4 separate regions of the Homo sapiens genome follow, and regions 1, 3 and 4 are each linked to region 2. Evidence: promoter capture Hi-C in human tissues and cell types (Jung and others, 2019). All regions are on one chromosome and are shown on one strand. Each heading gives the region's core, a stretch centred on a gene start or on the middle of the fragment in contact. The rest is flanking DNA. Distances are from core to core; before and after follow the strand shown. Region 1 overlaps RCOR3 (REST corepressor 3). Region 2 holds the start of RD3 (RD3 regulator of GUCY2D). Region 3 overlaps NEK2 (NIMA related kinase 2). Region 4 has its middle 9.9 kb from the start of RCOR3.

Region 1 (3,117 bases), core at 423-2,922, 200 kb after region 2:
AAAAAAAAAAAATTAGCTGGTCATGGTGGCATGAACCTGTAGTCCTAGTTATTCAGGAGGCTGAGGTGGGAGGATTGCTCAAGCCCAGGAGTTCAAGGTTACAGTGAGCTGTGATTATGCCAATGCACTCTAGCCTAGGCGACAAAGCAAGACCCTGTCTTAAAAAAAGGCTGGGTGCGGTGGCTCACGCCTGTAATCCCAGCACTTTCGGAGGCCAAGGCAGGCGGATCACGAGGTCAGGAGATCAAGACCATCCTGGCTAACATGGTGAAACCCCGTCTCTACTAAAAATACAAAAAATTAGCCGGGCGTGGTGGCGGACGCCTGTAGTCCCAGCTACTCAGGAGGCTGAGGCAGCAGAATGGCGTGAACCCAGGAGGTGGAGCTTGCAGTGAGCTGAGATCGCGCCGCTGCACTCCAGCCTGGGCGACACAGCGAGACTCCGTCTCAAAAAAAAAAAAAAAAAAAAAGAAAGAAAGAAAGAAAAGTCAGTGTGTGCTATGCAAAATTCATAATAAAAACCACAGGGCTTGTAGGGTAAAAGAGGTTGGGACACAACATTAAAAAACTTCAATGACACATAAGACAGGAACCTAATAAAAATGGCAACACAGTTTTACACAATCTAAATGATTTGTTTTTAATCCATAAATGCTACAACAAAGACAGTACTTTACCTTGAAAAAAAACCTGAAGGTTGCTTATGGAAGTGGGAGTCAAAATGGTTGTAGTTTGTGAATTATTATGCAAGTGGTAGGAGGGTTACTTGAAATCAGATGAAAAGTTTTAACACCATATATGTATGGTTCATAACATACAGTGAATTGAGGTAGCTGCTACATGTTTGAGATGTGTGTGCGCTCAGTTCAGCTGGGTACATTTTGTTTTGCTGACAAAAATCATACATAAACAAACAAAAAATTCATGTTATGCTCAAATTTTTCCAGAGTATATTAACTGCATTAGGACAAATCCACATTTTCAAAAAAAGTTATAGCAGAACAGACTCTACTTATATTATAACAGTTTTACAGATGAGGAATATAAGGCACAGAGAAGTTAAGAAACCTTCCTAAGGCTAGGAGATACAACCTGAATTTAAACTATACCAAGTTTTTAACTTTTACTCTACTAGCAATATTATTAGTCTCCATTTAGACTGTTAAGGGTTAGGATTGTTTACTTTTTTCCTCTGTTTTTCCCCCCTAGTGTGGACAACGAAATACTTATAATTTATGAACTATTTTCACTAGAGATCTTAAAACCACAGCTAAAATGCATAAAATCTAGGATGGTTCAAGGGTAGTCAGCTGGCCATGTTAGATAGACATACAGAGATAAAATGTAAAGTCTGAATTCTCGAGGATTTCATAGACTAGTGGGGAGATAAGTAAACATAAACCTATGATAAACGCTAAAACACCTAACATAGACTTGGAGAGAGAAAGAGAGAGAATGAGAGAGTAAATGTGCTTCTATATATGTTGATGAACAGGTGGTGGGGAAGATTAGGGAAAGTGTTCCAAAGAAAAGGACAGCTAAACTGAGTTTTAAAGAATTAAACTGGCAGACAAGCTTGGGAGGAGGGACTGCATTCCAGGCAGAATAACGCTTAGGAAGACAGAAAAGCCCTAAGGTGAAAAGGCAAGAAGTTAGACTGGGGCCAGACCGAGGAATTTTAATTTTGCCTAAAGATTGAAGGAAACCTAAAGGATTTTTAAGCAAGGGAACAAAATGACCATATATGCCTTTTAGAAAGACACTTCTGGTAGTAATGTGAAGAAGAAAATAGGGTAAAGAGGATGGAAATTAATTTAACAATCCAGGTGAGAAATAATAAATAATTAAGAAAACTTTCATTAAAACTGTAGGAATGAAGGAAGGATGGTAGTGGTATGCAGAGATTAAAGAAATACCTTGGAAACAAAATTAAGACTTATTTATTTATTTATTTATTTATTTATTTATTTTTGGAGACAGAGTCTCACTCTGTCGCCCAGGCTAGAGTGCAGTGGCGCGATCTCGGCTCACTGCAACCTCTGCAGCCCGGATTCAAGCTATTCTCCTGCCTCAGCCTCCTGAGTAGCTGGGATTACAGGAGCCTGCCACCATGCCTGGCTAATTTTTGTAGTTTTAGTAGAGACGGGGTTTCACCATGTTGGCCAGGCTGGTCTTCAACTCCTAACCTCGCGATTCACCTGCCTCGGCCTTCCAAAGTGCTGGGATTACAGGCATGAGCCACTGCACCCGGCCAAGACATCTTTGTAAATACCTGATTGTGGAGAATTAGGGGGAATTGAGGCTAACTGGTCACTGGCTTCAGTAATTGAGAGTATGTGGCACTACTCACTGAGACAGAAAATACAAAACGTGGAACAGATAACTATGGTGAGTGTGGAAGAACTCAGTTTGAACACTGCATATGAGATGTTTGTGACATAAAAGTAGCAGTGGTTAACAGGATTTGTAAACCCATGAGTGCAAACCTTTACTGTGTCACACATCAAATGAATAACCAAGTTAGGAAGTTAAAGCTTAAAGTGCCTTCTAAAAAAATCAATAAAAATAGTCCCTAAGTGTAGGAGTAGTAGTACTGAGAATGAAGTATGAATACAGGTGACTGAGTACACTTTATTCCTTTATGTTTTTAGTGCATTTAAAGTATTACAGCAAATGATTTAGAAGTTTTCTAAAGAGGATTGCTGTGGTTTGGAAGTTAGGCATCTTGCATTCATAGTTTGACTAAAGGCTAAGCATTTAACCAAATATGAGATGCGTTGGTGGTATAGTGGTGAGGATAGCTGCCTTCTAAATATGTACTATAAACACACATACTCCAGAGAGTCACAAAGTCAAGTGAAAGAAATTCCAAAAAGAAAGACATGGCTGACAGTGTCAAACATTACTGAGTAGTCAAAGGAGCTAAAAACCAGGAAGGCAGCATTAGATGTTGGCCACTTGTTCATAAGTGATTTTTTTTTTCTACTGTAAACCTTGAACTCCTAGGCTCAGGCGATCCTCTCTCCTCAGACTCTCTTGTGTTGCTAGGACTACACTACAGATACACACAACCACGTTTGGCTATTTTTAAAATTTTTTTTATAGAGATGAAGTCTC
Region 2 (3,120 bases), core at 503-3,002:
CTCATTTACATTCATTGTGTGTGCATTAGAAGGGGAGATATTAATACAAAAGCATGGCTATAGAAAAGGGATGAATTGTTTTTATTCAAACACAGAATGGTCAGTAGCAGACCCAAGGTTGTACTACTTGGAGATAAAAGTCTTTAACTCTGGGCCCTAATGCTGTCCCTGCTCCCCACCTGCCTGCCAGACTTCCACCTCCTCCTCATCTGATCCAGCAATCCAGCACACACAGGCTTGGCTGGGATGTGTGCAGAGAGGAGAGCCAGGCTCAGCCAGCTCCTAGCTTGGTGCCCCTGTAGAATGGTGCTTTAGAAATACGTGCTGCACAGATGAGCATGTGACTTAGTCCATGCCCTCCTCTCCTCATTGCCTCCAGCAACTTTCCTAAAGGGAAGGTAAAGTCTTGTCATCCCCCTGCTCCCTTCCCTACAGTGTGGAAATGCCTGGGAATTTCTGCCCTTGGACCTCCAAGCCACGCCCCTTGGGAAAGTGCCAGGATAGTGGTGGGGTGCTCAGAGGTGGGGACTCCCAGTTACCTGCTTTGGGTGACTCTGGCCTTAGCTGGCCCTGAGGTGGAGGCCGCCTGGGAACTGTGGGTCAGAGGAAGTCAGCTTCAGCTCCCTCAAATGTGGGGATCTTCCATCCCCAAGTGACCCACTCAATCTTTGGGGCTGTCGTGCTGTGAACTGGTCAAGAGAAGTATATGATCCAACTCCTGACTCAAGAATCTTGCCTGCTTGATGGATGAAGAGGGAAGGCGGATGGAACCAGCTGAGTGGAACCAGCCACAGAGCAAGCACGAAGTGACAAATCACCCAGGGACGAAATCATGCAGGCAGGCAGGTGGGCAACCTGAGTCCATTTCATCAGCCATTGTTTAATTTATTCTTGGTTGTACTTTCTGCTTTATTTCCAACACAATCAAAACCAGATGTGTGCAAAAGTCACGCTATCACCCAGCACAGGATTACCTAAGATCTATTATAATGCAGCTTCATGCCCATTACAGTATTCCCATGCCCCTCACAGGGCAGTGTGCATCTGTTTTAGTGCTACCTAATGTCTGTTAGGTGCAAGCTGGCCCACACATGGCTTCTAGGCAGAACAGTCTACAAGTGACAGCGTGACCAGAGAGCAGAGACAGGAAGGAGGCCCAGACATGAGTGTGGGATGCTGCAGAACAGCAACAGGATGCTTCTGCTATCCCCAAATGTTATCTCAAATACCTCAACGTCAATGCTTTCTGTTCCATGTTCCTCTTCTCCCTGGACAGCCCCTCCTTCTGAAAGTCAGAACTGTCTGCTCTTGAGCTTGCCTTGAGGGAAGGAAATAATTTAGATAAGCAGAGAGGAAGACAGGCAAGGGATGTGGTGGGGCAAAGGCGGAGATGTATCTTCACAGGTCCCTGTCCTCAGCACCCAGAATCACCCCTTCCCTGTAGGAGGGAGCTGATAGAAAGAGGGGATCTCCATCCAGGAGCCACCCACCAGGCAGCTGGAAACATTTGCCAACAGCAGGTACACCTAGGGCTCAGCAGAGGGTTGGGTGAGAATGGTCTTGCCCAGTTTGTGCCACACTGAGCACCGGCTGGAGGAGGAAGCGGACAGAATGCCATCTGGACACAAGTGCTCCCTCACTGCCTGGGCCTGGGTCGCCTCAGGCTTTTGTGTCAGATCAGCCACTCCCTCTACAGATAATGCTGCTCCAGGCAAAGAGGCTTAGGTGGGTCTCCAGGGCAACCGCAGCTCAGGAGCTGGCCCGCCTCCATGGTTCATCAGGGAAGCTGTGGCTCCAGCCTCGCGGGATACATACACGCATACACACACACACACACACACACACACACACACACACACACACACCTACACACCCCACAAACAATAGTCCAGGCTGGATCTCTCCTCCTGTCTCTTCTCTTGGTAAAACTTCTCAGAGAACCAAAGAGAGGCAAAATTTGAGGCCAGCCGGCAGCAGCAGAGAAGCTGAGGGAGACTTGAGGATGTAGACTGCCCTGCCCTGCTGTGGCTGCTCAACTTTCTTTTTTTTTCCTGAAAATATCCAGACACTCTCTTCTCCCAGACTGGGAAGCAGAACGCAGGCCCCCTGCTGTGACGCTGCACCTGAGCAGAGGCTGACCTCAGAGGTAAGATGGAGGTCTCCCCAGGAGACAGTGTCTTCCCCACCCGCACCCTGGCACAGCTGCACCTTTGGAAGTTAGGGCTGAGGCTTGAAGCTGGGTGGGGTGGCCTCAAGGGGTGTGGCAGGCTGGGGAGCCTAGAAAGCCGCCCACCTCCGGGACCCAGATGGCCACAGGAAGGCCCCTTTAGTCCTCATCAGTTCCACAGGAGTTGGAACCGATGAGGGTCCTGCAGCTTCCTCGGGGCTATAGCCTGCTCCTTGTTTTGTAAACCTGTGGGAAGCCATTGTTTTTGCCTGTTCTGGAACTGCAAGCCTCTCGGGGAGGACCCAGCTCCAGCAGGTTCCTTTCTGCCTTTATAGAGTGGACACAGGCAGGGGGAAGGAAAGCGAAACCCAAATCAGAGACTCTTGCATGGGTTTGCGAACTGTGATTCGAGCATCTACTAAGTCCAAGGCACAGAGTCAGGCTCTGGGGATGCAGCAGCACCCAGGGCACGAGGGTGATGGATGTGCCTCAGTCCCCTCGAACATGGAGCAGTCTGTGCATCCCTGATAACATGCCCAGGAGAGTGGGCCCAGGCAGATGGGTGCAGGGTGGGGCGCCAGGGAGATCGGGCCTAGAAGGAAAGTCCAGCTGCGACCAAGGGATGAGGGTCAGTCCCCTCCCACTGTGGTCAGTCAGACCTGTGTACACGCCCTCTCCTGGCTGCACCTCTGCCTCAGAATGGGAAGGACTGGCTGCCATTCACTCATTCATTCAGGAACCGCTTATCAAGTGCTACCATGTGCAGCAGATTCAACCCACATTCCTCTCGCCCTTGCAGAATTCATAGCTAGGTGGGGAAGAGATAAATACAACCCAAAGCGTGAGAAACGTGTTTGCTAGATGCCATGGTGATGGGCCCTTGTGTCAGGCCCTGGTGGCTGGGATCAGTGCTCCATGGGTGGGGGGAAGTGAGGGGCCGGCTGCAGGGAGGA
Region 3 (3,245 bases), core at 530-3,029, 170 kb before region 2:
AGGTGGATAGAGTTGAAACAGTGGAGATAAGGTCTAAAAGCAATCCAGTTTGCTTTGAAGCAGAAGCGACGTATGAAGCGGGAAGTCACAGGACCCTTGGAAGGCAGTGCATCTGTGTGCCAGCCTTTCCTATTTCTTCTGCCTGGAGCACTCTTCATCCAGACAGCCCTGTGGCTTCTTACTTCAGAAATGCTGTATGAGGCTTTGTATCATTACACCCAGCACCCAGCACCCAGCATGTCCCTGTTTCCAGAGCTATTTTTCCTAATAGCACGTATTACCATCAAATATTCCCCACCAGTACTTGTTTGTTTGTGTTTGGTTTATCTCCTCCTACTAGAATAGGGCCTTTGTTTGGTTCACAGTGGCCCATCCTATGAGCTCAGTAAATATTCGAACATATTTCCTTTAACACAAAAAATAAAAGGATTCTAGAATCTGTAAGCCTCCAGCCCCCAGTAATTCTGTCAGCAGTTAATAGTGTTGCCACTTTAAGTAAATATGATTATTATTTATTTTTTCCATGTAAAGAATAGTTTACAGTTTTTACTACTCTTACTTGATTTACCTTTTCCACACTGAATTTGTTTAGATTTTTTGGAAACAGATTTCTCGTCCATTAAGATGCTTTGAACTAAGTGTTCTTGAACATTTAACCAAAACTGTAGGTGTTCTCTATTTAAAAAAAAAAAAAAAAACAAAGACAGAAAAAAACCTCTGCTTCTACACTTTTCTGTAGGTAAGGTGTTCTGCATAGAATGGCACTTATTTTCAAGGACAGAGATAAATAACATTGATTTCCAAAAGTTTTATGTTGTCCATAATACTCAGTGTGTTTAAGAGTAAAATTGATTGTTGGTTGTTAAGAGAATAAAACTTATGTTCCTTGAATTTTGGCACATTCCAATATTATTTTTTCAATGCTGTGGATTAAAAGGCTGATTTCTGCAAGTCCTACACCCCTAACCTCCTATCCCAGAGAAAATAAAACAGGCACCTAGATTTCAAATGTGAGCCATAAGAGCAAATACTTTTTGATAAGTATAAGTATGAAGGAGTTGAACTCTGTTCAAGTAACTCAGAGCCCTTTTTCTTTTTCCTTCTAAAGAACTTCTTAATCTTCCATCCTCAGTAATTAAGAAGAAAGTTCATTTCAGTGGGGAAAGTAAAGAGAACATCATGAGGAGTGAGAATTCTGAGAGTCAGCTCACATCTAAGTCCAAGTGCAAGGACCTGAAGAAAAGGCTTCACGCTGCCCAGCTGCGGGCTCAAGCCCTGTCAGATATTGAGAAAAATTACCAACTGAAAAGCAGACAGATCCTGGGCATGCGCTAGCCAGGTAGAGAGACACAGAGCTGTGTACAGGATGTAATATTACCAACCTTTAAAGACTGATATTCAAATGCTGTAGTGTTGAATACTTGGTTCCATGAGCCATGCCTTTCTGTATAGTACACATGATATTTCGGAATTGGTTTTACTGTTCTTCAGCAACTATTGTACAAAATGTTCACATTTAATTTTTCTTTCTTCTTTTAAGAACATATTATAAAAAGAATACTTTCTTGGTTGGGCTTTTAATCCTGTGTGTGATTACTAGTAGGAACATGAGATGTGACATTCTAAATCTTGGGAGAAAAAATAATGTTAGGAAAAAAATATTTATGCAGGAAGAGTAGCACTCACTGAATAGTTTTAAATGACTGAGTGGTATGCTTACAATTGTCATGTCTAGATTTAAATTTTAAGTCTGAGATTTTAAATGTTTTTGAGCTTAGAAAACCCAGTTAGATGCAATTTGGTCATTAATACCATGACATCTTGCTTATAAATATTCCATTGCTCTGTAGTTCAAATCTGTTAGCTTTGTGAAAATTCATCACTGTGATGTTTGTATTCTTTTTTTTTTTCTGTTTAACAGAATATGAGCTGTCTGTCATTTACCTACTTCTTTCCCACTAAATAAAAGAATTCTTCAGTTTCCCTGTAGTTATGTGTCTTGCATTTGTTGGTCTCTTAGTTGATGGGAGTTGTGTTTATGATTTGTAGGTCTTCATTGTAGGGTACAGAAGGAAACATGGATCTGATGCTCAAGGGAGTGGCATTCCAGTCCTAAACTGTATGGCGCTTTACCTCCCATCTCATTAATCCATGTATGTAAGCCAGTGGTCCTTAACAGGGTGATTTTGCTCCTCAAGAGACGTTTGGCAATGTCTGGGGGCATTTTTGATTGTCATGATTTGGGGTAGGGTGCTACTGGCTGCTAGTGGGTACAGGCCAGGGACACTGTAAACATTTTACAATGCACAGGACAGCTGCTGACAACAAAATGTCCATGGGTTTGGATCATAATCCTGAATGATACAATCTCAAATGCGAAAATCCTGAAAGACCAAAATCCCTAATGTCTTAAATCCCAAAAGATCAGAATCCCTAATGTGTGAACTTCCAAAATCACAATCCTGAAAGATTAAAATCCCAGATGTTAAAATCCTGAAAGCCGAATTTGAGGTTAGGGATTAGTGCCGTTTCAGCTGTATACAGGATAATTGCATCATGTTAGGCAGAACTATTACCTTGTTATTGTCTTCATTTGGAAATTAAGTATGGTTTAAGAGATGTGGATGGATATCGAGTTGATAAGGGGTGAACTTGTTGATTTATGTGTCAACTTGACTGGATTAAGGAATCCCTAGAAATCTGGTAAAGCATTATTTTAGATGTGTCTGTGAGGGTGTTTCCAGAGGAGGTTAATATGTGAGTCTCAGTAGACTAGGTGGGGAATATCTTTCCTCAATGTTTAGTGTTTTGAAGATCATAAAAGCGACTTTTCAGGTGAAAAGTACAAGAAATCTCTCCTGCCAAATTATTCAGTTATGTACAAATTCTGCTCCTTCATGAATAGTGCCACGCTTGCCTTAAAAAAATGCCCTTTGTCAGAGAATAAAATTCGACAAGCTGAACGACCTTGTGAACCAAAGACACTTGCTGATACTGAGGTTCCTCCAGTGTTACAAAACTCATTAACCAAACTGTTCTTGGTTAGGGATTTGACTGTCGAAGAAGATAGACTGCTTATATTTACCACTAAATCTAACAGAAAAACTATCGCATGTTTTCATTTTGGCTAGTGGACGGCACTTTCAAAACTATCCCTACTGGTTTTTATCAACTATACATGATTCATGCCCCTGTTGGTTCTGAAGATTCTAGAACTTATCTAGTCATTTAAACAATTATTTGAA
Region 4 (3,265 bases), core at 155-2,654, 240 kb after region 2:
AGACAGGGGTTTCACCATGTTGGCCAGACTGATCTCGAACTCCTGACCTCAGATGATCCTCCCACCTTGGCCTCCCAAAGTGCTGGGATTACAGGTGTGAGCCACCGCACCCAGCCTCAGAATATTTTTGAAAGAGTACATCAAAACCGGTTCTCTCTGAGGAAGAGGTGTCACAGTCTGGGATGGAAAGGGGGACTTTATCTTCCTCTGTATTTTTTTGCATGGTTGGACTCTTACCATGTATAGGTGTTACTGTTTCAAGGAATAAGTGTTTAAAGAATCAACTAATAGACAAAACACAGATATTTATAGTAAAAAAATTAACATAAAAGTAAAGTTATAACTAATTGAAGTTAGAAAGTAGAATGGAAGAGGCAAGATGGAAAGAGGATGGGGTGTTAGTATTCTCATTTTAAAAAATAAAAAAAAAATTCAGCAGGGTAGTCATTGTGGACTATACCTTGATTCACCAGCTGTACTAGGCACGTAGGAAAGGCCTCAATTGAACTCCTGTTTTATTCATATTATTCAGGTTAATTATGATTTTCTTTATGCTACTAGTTATGCTGAAGAGTTCATTGATGTGTTCTTTGGTTTTCCTTCATTATTACTTTTTTTTTTTTTTTTTTGAGACTGATCTTGGATCTTGCTCTGTCACCCAGGCTGGCGTGCAGTGGCATGATCATAGTTGACTACCACCCCAAATTCCTAAGCTCAAGCAATCCTCCTGCTTCAGCCTCCTTCCTGAGTAGCTACGACTACAGGTGTGCACCACCACACCAAGCTAATTTGTAAAATTTTTTTTTTGCAGCAACAGGGTCTTGCATGTTGCTCAGGCTTGTCTTGAAACCAACTTTGCAAACATTATAACTGAGGAAATTATGACAGTGAAAGAGATCAGACCTAATCAATTCCACCTTCCTTCTAACATTTAAGCTGTCCTTGTTCATTCGTGGGCGTAGGTGGAACTAACTTTGGGAAGGAATTCAGTTCATGGTTTGACTCCGAAACGAAATTGATAATAGTCCTTTTTTGCCTGGGGACCAGTCTGCCTTTGCAGGACTAACAAATTAGCTACAAGGTTAGAAATTAGGGTTTAGGGGCCATGCAGCTTCTGGCTCCAAGAGTCTGAACCTCCCCAAATTGCTCCTGGGGATAACATCACTATTGTAAAACCTAACATCAGTGCTTGAGATATTTTGCAGACCCTGCACTGGATGGATCAGCTGACACCACCCATACTGGTAATCTGGCTCAACCAGTTCTGCCATCCTACCTAGGAACAGAAGACAGCAAGAAAAACTCACTTGGCCCTCCCCTACGATTACATCTCCAACCTGACCAATCAGCACTCCCCACTTCCCAAGCCCCTACCCCACAAATTGTCTTTAAAGACTGATTTGAGTAATAATAAGATTCCAGTCTCCCACACTGCTGGCTCTGCGATCATTACGTTTTCTCCATTGCAATTTCCCTGTCTTGATAAATACCTGGCCTCAAGTGATCCTCTCTCCTCGGCCTCCCAAAGTGCTGGGGTTACAGGTGTGACCCACATCATGCAGCCTAATTATTACTTTAGAAGTGTTGGTCTTAGAATAAGTTTAACTCCAAAATAGAATCAAGTGATCCTGAGCAGCATGGCCAGGGGACTGCCTAACATTAAGCCAGCTCAAGTTGGACACAAACATAATAGGGAGAAGGAACTGTAATTTTTTAAATTTTAAATTTTTAATTTTAATTAATTTTTTTAGAGCTACTGATCCCCACAGCCAGAGAAATCATGTAATCTTAAGAGCTGACAGGAACTTTAGAGGTCTGGTAACCTTCTTTATCTTCACCTCCTGGAATAGTCACCATTTCTGAAACTAGAAGTTTAAACAGATCTTCATTTGAATATCTCCATTTAAACAGATACAGAGATAGATAACTGCATCACAGAGTAGATCATTTCTTTCTTTCTTTCTTTCTTTCTTTTTTTTTTTTGAGACAGAGTCTCACTCTTGTCCCCCAGGCTGGAGTGCAGTGGCGCGATCTCGGTTCACTGCAACCTCTGCCTCCCAGGTTCAAGCGATTCTCCTGCCTCAGCCTCCCGAGTAGCTGGGATTACAGGCGTGTGCCACCACGCCCAGCTAATTTTTGTGTTTTTAGAAGAGATGGGGTTTTGCCATGTTAGCCAGGATGGTCTCTATCTCCTGACCTCAGGTGATCCGCCTGCCTCGGCCTCCCGAAGTTCCACTGTGTGAGCCACTGTGTGAGCTGCTGTGCCCGGCTGATCATTTCATTTTTGAAAATGTTTAAGTCCTTTTTTTTTTTTTAGACAGAGTCTTGCTCTGTCACCCAGGCTGGAGTGCAGTGGTGTGATCTTGGCTCACTGCAACCTCCGCCTCCTGGGTTCAAGCGATTCTCCTGCCTCAGCCTCCCGAGTAGCTGGGACTACAGGCATGCGCCACCACAGCCGGCTAATTTTTGTATTTTTAGTAGAGACAGGGTTTCACCATGTTGGTCAGGCTGGTCTTGAACTCCTGACCTTGTGATCTGCCCACCTCGGCCTCCCAAAATGCTGGGATTACAGTCGTGAGCCACCGCGCCTGGCCAAAAATAAAAATGTTTAAGTCTTAGAAAACATATGTGTTTTTTTTTGTACCCAAAGTTCAACTACATACAAAAGAAACCCCAAACAGCAGTGTCTTAAACAAAATGAAATTTTATTTCTTTTCATGTAAAAGACGTACAGAGGTAGGCAATATTGGGCTGACATGACAACTGCAATGAACTGGTGAGGAATCCAGACTTCTTCCATTTTGCCCTCCACTGTTCCTGGAGCATAACTTTTGCCCTTGCAATCCAGAATAGCTGCTAGAGTGCCAGTCAGGACCCTGCTACATGCAGCAGAACAAAGGAGTAAAAGCCAAAGAGCACACCCCTCTCATTAAGGAGACTTCCCGGCAGTCTTGCAAACCACTTATGCTGATATATCAACATCCACAGCCTAGTCACATGATCCATCTAATCTCAAAGGAGGTTGGGAAATTTCAAAGTGCCCCACTAAAAAGCAGGGTTCCATTGCTAAGGACTACAAAGGAAATGAGTACTGAAAAGCAGCTAGCAATCTCTGTCACACTAGCTCTTTAAAGACTTAAAAACAGCAATCAAGTCCCACTTAAGCTTCTTTTACAGACTAAACATCATTATTCCCTTTGACAAATCTTCACTGATATTGTTTTCAGATCCTTCACCTTTTTGATTGTCTCATGAAAATGTTCTA

What was found. Contacts are between HindIII fragments. The study calls those that stand out against the background at their distance.
Region 1: a contact is called between a fragment that was not itself captured here and the fragment with the promoter of RD3 in region 2, in 2 of the 25 tissues and cell types used here (mesenchymal stem cells and spleen).
Region 3: a contact is called between a fragment that was not itself captured here and the fragment with the promoter of RD3 in region 2, in 1 of the 25 tissues and cell types used here (aorta).
Region 4: a contact is called between a fragment that was not itself captured here and the fragment with the promoter of RD3 in region 2, in 1 of the 25 tissues and cell types used here (spleen).

Annotation. Positions count from the first base shown.
Region 1 is chr1:211,291,940-211,295,056 of GRCh38, reverse strand. The region is part of intron 8 of RCOR3 (REST corepressor 3); the gene reads right to left. Among named protein-coding and RNA genes, the nearest start is that of TRAF5, 33 kb to the left of the region's middle. The HindIII fragment of the contact is 4,612 bases long and covers 1-3,117 here.
Region 2 is chr1:211,490,794-211,493,913 of GRCh38, reverse strand. It overlaps RD3 (RD3 regulator of GUCY2D), which reads left to right and starts at 1,752. Exons shown (of 3, transcript NM_001164688.2): 1 at 1,752-2,146. The HindIII fragment of the contact is 12,360 bases long and covers 1-3,120 here.
Region 3 is chr1:211,661,516-211,664,760 of GRCh38, reverse strand. It overlaps NEK2 (NIMA related kinase 2), which reads left to right. Exons shown (of 8, transcript NM_002497.4): 8 at 1,109-1,989. The coding sequence ends at 1,335. Among named protein-coding and RNA genes, the nearest start is that of NEK2, 12 kb to the left of the region's middle. The HindIII fragment of the contact is 3,568 bases long and covers 1-3,245 here.
Region 4 is chr1:211,247,849-211,251,113 of GRCh38, reverse strand. No RefSeq gene overlaps it. Among named protein-coding and RNA genes, the nearest start is that of RCOR3, 9.9 kb to the left of the region's middle. The HindIII fragment of the contact is 6,428 bases long and covers 1-3,265 here.